Regions from separate parts of the Homo sapiens genome. Here region 1 is linked to region 2. Evidence: promoter capture Hi-C in 16 types of primary human blood cells and fetal thymus (Javierre and others, 2016). All regions are on one chromosome and are shown on one strand. The core of a region is centred on a gene start or on the middle of the fragment in contact, and the rest is flanking DNA. Distances in the headings are between cores, read along the strand shown. Region 1 overlaps CUX2 (cut like homeobox 2). Region 2 holds the start of MYL2 (myosin light chain 2).

Region 1 (5,085 bases), core at 1,955-4,454, 290 kb after region 2:
TACGGCGCAGGGAGTGATGGATGGCTCTGGTAACCCGGGCTGTCTCCCAGCCACGGCTCAGTTATCCATCTCGGCGGGCTGCGGAGCCATCCGTCTTGTCTTGTCTTGTCTCCTCACTTATGGCAGGCCGGCGGGTGCCCTCCATCCCGGGTCATCCCCCAGCCCCCTCCCAGAGCTGGCCCTCTGAGGCCCCTCTGAAGGCGACACTCCCAACCTGCCCCGCAGTAGATAGAACAAGTCCCTTTGCTCTGAACATCCCCTGAAGCCCTCCTCAGTGTTTGCCGGCAACTCTGATAGCAAAATCCTGAAGGACCTCCATGGGCCCAAGATGCAGAATAGGACATTTGCTCCCACAAAGTTGTCCCTCCATCCCCCCGCCACAAGGGGCTTCTCATACTTACTCCACTAATAGTCATTCCACAAATATTTATTGAATGCCCACTGTGCACCAGGCGTTGAACTAGAACCCCTGGATAGCTGTGAACAAGAACTGTATCACCCAGTCATGCACACAGCCCCCACCCTTGAGGGACTGTGTGCCATTGGTGGTTGTCAACACTCTGAAGACCCTAGACACCAAGCCAAGCACTTGACCTGCTTACAGTCTGGTTCTCAAGGGGTCCTGACAACCCTATGGGCACGAATTCTTAGCCCCATTTTATAGACACAGAAACGGAGGCTGAGTCACCTATCCAAGGTCACAATGCTAGTGAGGCATCAAAGCCAACGTTTGAACCCAGGTCAGTGGTCTGTGAACCATGTCACTGTTTCCCAGACAGACCGGGCTCTTTAGGGGTCTCTGGCCTTGACACATAGCATTCACTCATTCATTCGACCAACAAACATTTCTAGAATGCCTACTGTGTATCAGGAACTCTTCTAGGCACTGAGGATATCTTGTTCTCATGGAGCTTTCATTTTAGTAAAGAAGTAAAATACACAGTGTATTTGGTAGTGATACATGTTAAGGAGAAGAAAACTCAAGACAAGAACCGGAAGACCAGGACAAGTGTAGTTGGTGCACACCTGTAATCTAAGCACTTTGGGAGGCCAAGGCAGAAGGATTGCTTGAGCCCAGGAGTTTGAGGCCAGCCTGAGCAACATAGCAAGGCCCTGTCTTTACAAAAAATAAATTAGCTGGGTGTGGTGGTTTGCACCCATGGTCCCAGCTACTTGGGAGGCTGAGAAGGGAGCATTGCTTGGGCATGGGAGGTTGAAGCTGCAGTGAGCCAGGATTGTGCCACTGCACGCCAGGCTGGACTACAAAGCAAAACCCTGTCTAAGAAAAAAAAAGTTAAGGGCTTTTGCAACATTCCCATTTCCTCTGCCTGGGTTGCTTGGCTTCTTTATCTGACAGATTCTTCATCCTTCCAGACACAGGTCAGATGGTCCTATCTTGGCAACTCTTTTTCCCAATCACAGTAAGTAACCTTGCTCTCTGTGTTCCTGTCATACTGTTTTTATACTTCTCATAGTGTATGTCGGCACATAGTGTTAGAATGGCTCTCCTTGTCTACCACACTGTACTGTGAACTCCTCAAGGACAGAGACTGTGTTGGTTGGTTTCTGTACACCAGTACCTAGCACTGTGCCTGACACAGAATTGGGCCAGTGATTAGTTGGATGGTTGATTGGATGGGGTTAGATAACTAACCCACCTATCCACCCAAGGATGGATGACTGCTTGAGTGATTGGGTACCTGGATGCTGGACAAGATCAGTTGGGTGAATAGATGAATGGATGATCCTTTTCTAGATGATCAACTGTTGGATAAATAGATGGTTGGTTAGGTGGGTAGACATATAATTGGATGAATAGATAAAGGCATGGTTGGTTGGATGGGTAGATGTATAACTGGATGAAAATGGATGGTTTGGTAGATAGATGTATGATTGGATGAATGCATAAATGGATGGTGGTTGGATGGGTGGATGTATGTCTGGATGAATGGATAAATGGATGATTAGTTGGGTAGATAGATGTATGATTAGATGAATGGATAAATGGATGGTGGTTGGGTAGTTGGACGGATGTTGGATAAAGGGCTTCCAGCCTGGTTAGCACTTCAGTGGTTACTGGCAGCCCCTGCCCAACTTGGGACCACACTATGATTTAATTAGAAGAGGTAGATTGAAGCTCTACCTCTCCTTTGCCTGATCAGTTTCCATACCCACCCAAAGGCAATACAAAAGACATGTTAGGGTTTCACTCTTCTCCAAGCCTGCACTAAAGATAATGTCTCTGCATGATGGCCTTTGTCACCTTTCACTAAAATTACTTATACCCAAGCTTGTCTGGTTTCTGAGCTCTTGGAGGATCCAGGCTATATCGGGCTTATCATTTCCATCCTCCTTATGAAATGCCTAGCACATCAGAGACCATGAATGCATTGATGGACGAGTGGATGGGTAGATGAGTGGGTGGACAGATGAGGTCCAACATCTTCGGTTGCATCCCCCTGTAGTAAGGTGAAAGCAGAGCCCCTGTTTGGATTTGGGGGGTTGGTGACTGTACTGGAAGTCATAATCACTGCTCATCTTTGTTTCTGAAACCTGGCCTGGAATCTCGACCATCACTTCACATACATATCCTTACAAGAGATACTGTACATAAAGTGCTTAGTGCACTCAATAAATATTAGTATATATGGTGTAATAGACTCTCAATAAATGTTAACTATGAGCTATTGTTTCCTATAAGGAACTTCTGTGTAAATGTTCTAGGGCTTAAAAAAAATCTGGTAGCAAATATCAGAAAGAGTTAACAGGGGCTCAAAGCAGACACCTAACTTGGAGGGGTGTCTGGGAAGCCTTTCTGGAAGAGGAGACATTTAAGCTGACACACAAAGAGATGAGTAAGATCAACCACAAAGACAGAATGAGTTCATCTGAGCTGAGGGAAAGGAGACTGTGGAACCACGGAGTCAGAAGGTTCTGGTGCATTTCGGTTTCTGCACGGAATTTGGTCCAGCTGGGAAGGAAACAAGGAGAAGGGGAAGTGGGAGGGACCCAGGGACACCCAGGAGTGAGGAGATTGTCCTAGGCCAGGTTTTAAACCAGGAGGGACATACTGAGAAAGAGATTGTTTGTCTTCATGGAATCTCTTTAAAGCCTAGGAACAACTGAGGTCCTCAATTCCTTAAACCCAGCTCCCAACAATCACTTTTTAGGTTTCTTCTCGGAGGTGGCCTTAGGGGGATATGTCTGAGTGTGAGGTGTCCTTGGAGCTGAGAAGATTGTGGGCACAGATAGGCGGGATCTCAGGTTGTGTCTTAACATGTGTTCCCCTCATAAGAACACAGATTCTAGCCCAAGGCTCTTCATATAGCTGACACTTTGGGATCAGGTGTGAAATTACTTTAAAAACTAAGTGTTCTTGTAAAATTCCCAGTCCCTCCTGGTTGGGGAAACCCAGACGAATTGAGAATGCTAGACTTGCTTCCCCATAGATAACCAACCATAGGATCCTTCCCTAGCCAAGACCCACCCTCCCCTCTGAGAAAATCCAACCTCTTAACTATGTGTGATGTGGGTGGGTAACCAAAAGTATCTGTGCCTCCGTTTTCTCATCTTTAAATGGGAGACTCAGATATGATTCATATTTACTGAAGTGTGGGACACATACCCACTGACGGGACATGAAATTGTAAGCATTCAGTAGAGCCAGTGTTAGAAGGGATTGACTTGGGTTCTGAGGAACAGTTCTGCCTTATCTCTTCCACCCTTCTTCATTCCAACAAGCAGAAAGTCTCTGTAGGGGACTGCATTAACACCCCTCCAGCACTTGCTAACCTTTTATAACAAACACAGGCAGCAATGATTTGTTTTTGGTTATACTTTTGTTTTAATGGCTACCATCTGTTTATGGTACATGATTCTCTAGTGACAAGAAAGTGTCCTTTTTAAATACACTTATTTAGGTTTAAAAAAAGGGAAGGAGTCATTAGGTAAAAGTCAGGAATAGGAAAAATGTGTCTGTGATGCCAGGGTCCAAATCATCGTTACTTTTAGGGGGTACTGACAAGGAGAGAGTACTCTAGGGAGTTTTCACAGGCACTAGGAACGTGAACGTTCTACATCTTGAACTGGGTAGTGCTTACTCAGGTGTAAACCATTCACTAAGCTTTCACTTGAGCCTAGGAGTTCGAGACCAACCTGGGCAACATGGCGAGACCCCCATCTCTACAAAAAATAAAAACTAGCCTGGCGTGGTAGCACATGCCTGTAGTCCCAGCTACCCAGGAGGCTGTGGGAGGGTCACCTGAGCCTGGGAAGTGAAGGCTGCGGTGAGCTGTGATCATGCCATTGCAGTCCAGCCTGGGTGACAGAGCAAGACCCTATCTAAAAAAAAATTTTGTAATTCACTAAGCTTAACATTGAACTATGGAACTTAAAGTGATCCATATCTCAAAAAGAGAACCATAGGAGTCCCTTTGAAGAGAAATATTAATTAATCATATTTTAGATGCTATATCAATATGACAAAATTCACACAGAGGGACATGAGTGGTCAAAGTTTGGACAGCAGTGACCTGAGCGACCTTGAGGATTCCTTCTAGCTCATATGTTCTGAGTGCCTTGGAGGACTAAGTCCCAAGACTGTTCAGCACACCAATGGCAAACCCTCTCAGAGACAGGGGCTCTCACTAGGCAGTGGGCACTTCCAGGGGGTACTGCAGATCCCATCAGAAGAGCCCCTTCCTCCAAGCCCCCGGCTTCTCCTGCAGCACCCGGTCCCGGGTGCAGCTCAGCCCCGGCCTCCTTTCTCTCTGCACATTGGCCCGAGCCTCAGCTGCATCTATCATCTGCTTCAGGCTCATTAAAATTATTTCTTTTTAGTTGCAAATGGGCTGTTTATGATGATCATTATTTGAATGGTCTGCGCCGGGCTCCGGGCTGTCTGTCTGCTGCTGATGGCCAGTTAATCAGATGAGTCTCCTCCCTGCCTGGGCCTGGCCCAAAGTCTGGGGCTGTGTTAATCATGGCTCCCCCAGGGCTGGGGGGCTGGTGGGGCCAGCAGGGGCTGGGTAGGAGAAGATCCTGATTTCTTTTTGATTACCAGAGCTGTGTGTGTGGTAGTTTGGA
Region 2 (4,755 bases), core at 1-2,500:
ACTCAGGTCTCCAAACGGTGATGCTGGAGGGAGCAAAGGACATGACATGAAGTTTCTCCAGAGCCCTCTGGTACCAGTGGATCATAAGCGTTTGTGCATCTTGCAGTGGCTCCTTCACCAACTAGGAGAAGCCACAGGTGTGTCCCTGGGGATGGAGGCCACACCTTCAGATCGCCCCTGCAGGATCCAGCCACTTTTGTTCTGATGCATTTCACAAAAAGCTCAGTAATGCACAGAAGGAGAATTGATTGGAGGGAAAGAAAAAGTCAGGCTCACTAAGCCATGATGAATGCCAAGATGAAATGACAGTTCTTCAAGGTGTTAAAACCCAACTGCGCCCCACACCCCACAATTTTCCCTTGCTCCAAATGGCAGCAAAACCTCCTCTCTGAATGCTCCGTCCTTGCACCACATCAATAGGGCAGAGAAGAGCGAGTTGACCTTTCTTCCCCACCCCACTTCTCTCTGACTTTCAATAACAGCAAATGATTCGGTACTCTACATATGTATTATTTAATTCTCATAACCACTCTGTCAAGTGGATACTATTATTATCATCCCCATTTTACAGGAGAGGCAACTGAGGCTCAGAGAGGTTGGGTCACTTGCCCAAGATCACACAGCCACACACACAGAAGGCAGAGCCGGAGTTGAACTTGGGCGTTGAACTTGGGGAGTTGAACTTGGGCATTCTGACTCCAGAGTTCCTGCCTCTAACCACTCTCCCTCCTGTGCTGACCCTGATTTGGGGACTGCCCACTTCAGGAGGGGGACACCTAACCCAACAGCACAGAAAGAAAGGTTTTAAATTTGCAAGTTCAAAAGGTGAAAACAAAAACATTCTTTTTCCCAGCTGCCTGAACAAGAGAAAAGAATTACAATTTGATCCTTAAAAGCATTCAATCCCATTTTGCAAGTCCTGGGAGTTATTGATTCCTCGAGAGGTCAGTAGACAAGCCATAAAAAAGCCAACTCTCTTATTTTGTGTTTGTGAGTCCCCGAGAGCTGCTGTTATTTGTGGCCTATCGGGGCATTGATTGGGGTTCCTCTGTGCCCGCGCAGTCAATGGGGCTTTTTCCACAAGGGGCTGGAGGCTTTGAGGGCCGCCTTCCTCCCCCTCCGCCGTGGTCCCTCGCTTGTAGTGGCTTCCTCTCCTCGCCCACCCGGCATCATCACCTCCTGGAGCCCTTGTACTCACCATGGTGGAAAGGACCCAGCACTGCCTCCCGAGAAGAATTCCACACTCCGCCCAGCTCTCTGCAGCCCAGGAACAATAAATACTTCCTCCCCATGTTTAAAAATAACCCCATGACCGCTTTTGGCAGTCATAGGTGAGGCGGGCACCACCTAAGGCCCCCCCACCCCATGCCGTTCTTCTGAAGTAAGGGTGGCTCACTCGCCACTGGGTGACACGTGAGCCCCCAAAAAGGCATTCAAGGTTAAAGAGGCAGTAGCTGGGTCATGGTCACGGGGAGAGATGCTGCGCGCTCTCTGCGGTGCTTGGGCCGGGGACACTTGTGCTTGTCAATTTTGAGAAAAAAAATGGCAGGGAGAGGAGACTGCTAAAATGCTCTGTTTTATCAGCCTGGATCTGGCCTCAGGGTCTTTGCACCTGTGTGCCCTCTACCTGGAATGTCTTTCTGTCAGTCATCGCACGGCTCCTTCCTTCACCTCCTTCACTGCATCTTTGCTCATATGTCATCTCCTGAGTGAAGCCTCCCCGACCACCATCTTTAAAATAACCATGAAGGCTGGCACTGTGGCTCATGCCTGAAATCCCAGCACGGCGGGAGGCCGAGGCGGGAAGATTGCTTGAGCCTAGGAGTTTGCGACCAGCCTGGGTGACATAGGGAGATGCCTGTCTCTACGCAAAAGAAAAAAAAATAGCTGTGCGTGGTGGTGCATGCCTATAGTCTCAGCTATTCAGGAGGCTGGGACAGGAGGATCACTTGGGCCCGGGAGGTTGAGGCTGTGGTGAGCCACGATCACACCACTGCACTCCAGCCTGGGTGACAGAGCAAGACCCTGTCTCAAAACAAACAAATAACACAGCCACGCACCTCCTGCGCTCCGATCTCCCTTCTTTGTTTCTCTGCACAGCGTGAGGCAGTCCCGAACACTGCCCACAGTGCACTGACTCATTTTCTTCAGCATCTGTGGAGCGTCAGCTCAGAGGGCAGGGATCACTTTAGTTTCCCTCACCACTGACTGTCTCCCCAGCTCCCAGCTCATGATGCACACAGCAGCAGCTCAAAAATAAATATTTGTTGACTGAAGAAATGACAAATCTCATTGACTGAGCACTGGCACGTGCCGGACACTATGTGCTCATGGCTCCCACACATAATTTTCCAGCCACCCTAGAGGGTGGGGACCACCTCATCATCCATGCCCCCATTTTACAGATGCGGAAACAAAAGCTCAGAGAGGCGAAGTGAGCTGCCCAGGGTCACACAGTGATGGAGCTAGGCGTGGACCCCTCTGGAGGCCCCTTTGTCTCCAGAGTCCAGGCTCTTTAAGAGCCTTGAAAACAGCAGCTGCTCTCAGAATGCAAGGTGTCATTATATAATACTTTTACTGAAGACAGCTTTCCTGCTGGGTGCAGTGGCTTATACCTGAAATGCCAGCACTTTGAGAGGCTGAGGCGGGTGGATCACTTGAGTCAGGAGTTCAAGACGACCTTGGCCAACATGATGAAACTTGTCGCTACTAAAAATACAAAAATTAGCCAGGCGTTGTGGCGCGGGCCTGTAGTCCCAGCTACTCAGGAGACTGAGGCAGGAGAATCGCTTGAGGCCGAGAGGCAGAGGTTGCAGTGAGCCGAGATAGCGCCATTGCACTCCAGCCTGGGCGACAGAGTGAGACTCTGACTCAAAAAAAAAAAAAAAAAAAAAAAGGACGGGCATGTTGGCTCACACCTAGCACTTTGGGAGGCCGAGGCGGGTAGATCACCTGAGGTCAGGAGTTCAAGACCAGTCTGGCCAACATGACAGAACCCCATCTCTACTAAAAATACAAAAATTAGCTGGGCGTTGTGGCACATGCCTGTACTCCCAGCTACTTGGGAGGCTAAGGCAGGAGGATTGCTTGAACCCAGGAGGCGGAGGTTGCAGTGAGCCGAGATCGTGCCATTGCACTCCAGCCTGGGCGACAGAGCAAGACTCCATCTCAAAAACAAAGACCAAAAAAACCCCAAACTAAACCAAAACAACAAAAGATGGCCATCTTCCTGTGCCCTTAAAGACAGCCTTGGGATTCAGGGAGCAAGAACTCGGGGCTTGGAATCATTGTGGTTATTTAGTGTCCGTGGGTGGCAGGCCTGAGTGCCAGAGGCCACACCTCTAAGAAGGAGAATGTCCCTCTGCCCTCCCAGTAGTGTGGGTGCGGGGCTGATGGCTGAACCAGCATTCATTCCCCTTCATCGAGCCCAGCGCAAAGCAACAAATTCCCTTCCCTTGAGGTGCGTAAGTGCGAGGGGAAGATGGACAAGGAGAAAGTAAACAAATGCACAACCCAGACAGTTGCAGGCAGTGACGGATCTCATGCAGGGATGAGACAGAGGCATGGCAGTGGCCAGGTGACAGCCTCAGACAGGGGCGCAGGTGGGCTCCTCCAAGCAGAGTCTGCAAAGGGGGCTCCAGGCAGTGGGGACAGCACATACCTCAAGGCAGGGAGAATTTGGAGGCTTTGAGGAACAGAAGGCCCCCTGGGGCTGGAGTTTTCCAGAGCTTAAAAAAAGAAATCACTTTTCTTATTAGGTTTTCCAGAGGGTAAAAGGAGGTGAGACCTGGCAAATGGTAGCTATCACTCACTCCCCTTCTCAGGTGGAAAAATAATCTCAATTTGGGGGCACACAAACCCAAGGACCATTGATGGCTGTGACAAAAAAAGGTGTGGGTTTTTTTCTTCTCTGCAGTCCCACATGGGTTAGAGTTACCCAGGACACTCTTCTGACAGATCTTTAATAACAAAAGATGTGTTCATGTGTGTGTGTAGGCACATGCATGCACAGACAAAAACACGTCTGCACATGCATAGAGGCACACAGACACGTGCATGTACACGCATCCACATATGTGCAGTGCACACATCAAGAGGAGCTTTTCTGTCCAAGGTTCTCTGACAACACCAGAATAAATGTTTCCCTAGCTAATAGGCACACCATAGATTTTCGTTAAAACCCTGTGTGAGCAGTCAGTAGCTCCAACTGGCCAAGTGAAAAGGTTGTTGCAGCCACAGAAGATGTGGAGAGTGTATGATGGGGGGTGGGAAGCCCCGGGGTGGGGATTAGGATGGGCTGGGCCCCCAGAGTCGAGTGGGGGTGTGTGTCCCTGAGGGACACCTGTACAGCCAGGCCTCCAGAAGGGGTACTAGAGGAACCATTCTGGCTGGATAGCAAGAGGGGTTGTCAAATAGGGCACTCACCCTCTCGGGCCTGTTTCCTCACCTGGAAAAGGGAGATCACACACCTCCATAAGGCTGCTGGGAGGATTAAGTGAGATTGTGTCTAGGGATTCTGGGAAATGGCGGCCTGAATGGGGCATGGAACCACGTGGCTGCTGGGACGTGGAGCACGTGGGGTGTGGACTAGGCCTTGGGGTCTGTTGAGAGAGCCAGAGATCCAAAGTCTCTCTCATCAATGGGTTGTGTTGCCCCAGGGAGCCCCCAAGACCAGGGACAAGGCCCTGGGATTGGAGAATCCAGGGAGGACTTGGTTCTTTGTAGACTTCAGGGGTTCCTTTCAGCATCAGCCTC

The links. Contacts are between HindIII fragments. The CHiCAGO score rates a contact against its expected background, and 5 or more counts as called.
Region 1: a fragment that was not itself captured here is called in contact with the fragment with the promoter of MYL2 in region 2 in 1 of 17 cell types (megakaryocytes); the score reaches 5.2 in megakaryocytes.

What each region holds. Positions count from the first base shown.
Region 1 is chr12:111,205,050-111,210,134 of GRCh38, forward strand. The region is part of intron 1 of CUX2 (cut like homeobox 2); the gene reads left to right. Among named protein-coding and RNA genes, the nearest start is that of MIR6760, 97 kb to the right of the region's middle. The HindIII fragment of the contact is 1,833 bases long and covers 2,289-4,121 here.
Region 2 is chr12:110,919,329-110,924,083 of GRCh38, forward strand. It overlaps MYL2 (myosin light chain 2), which reads right to left and starts at 1,251. Exons shown (of 7, transcript NM_000432.4): 1 at 1,199-1,251. The coding sequence starts at 1,201. RefSeq lists an enhancer at 1-2,059. The HindIII fragment of the contact is 13,220 bases long and covers 1-4,755 here.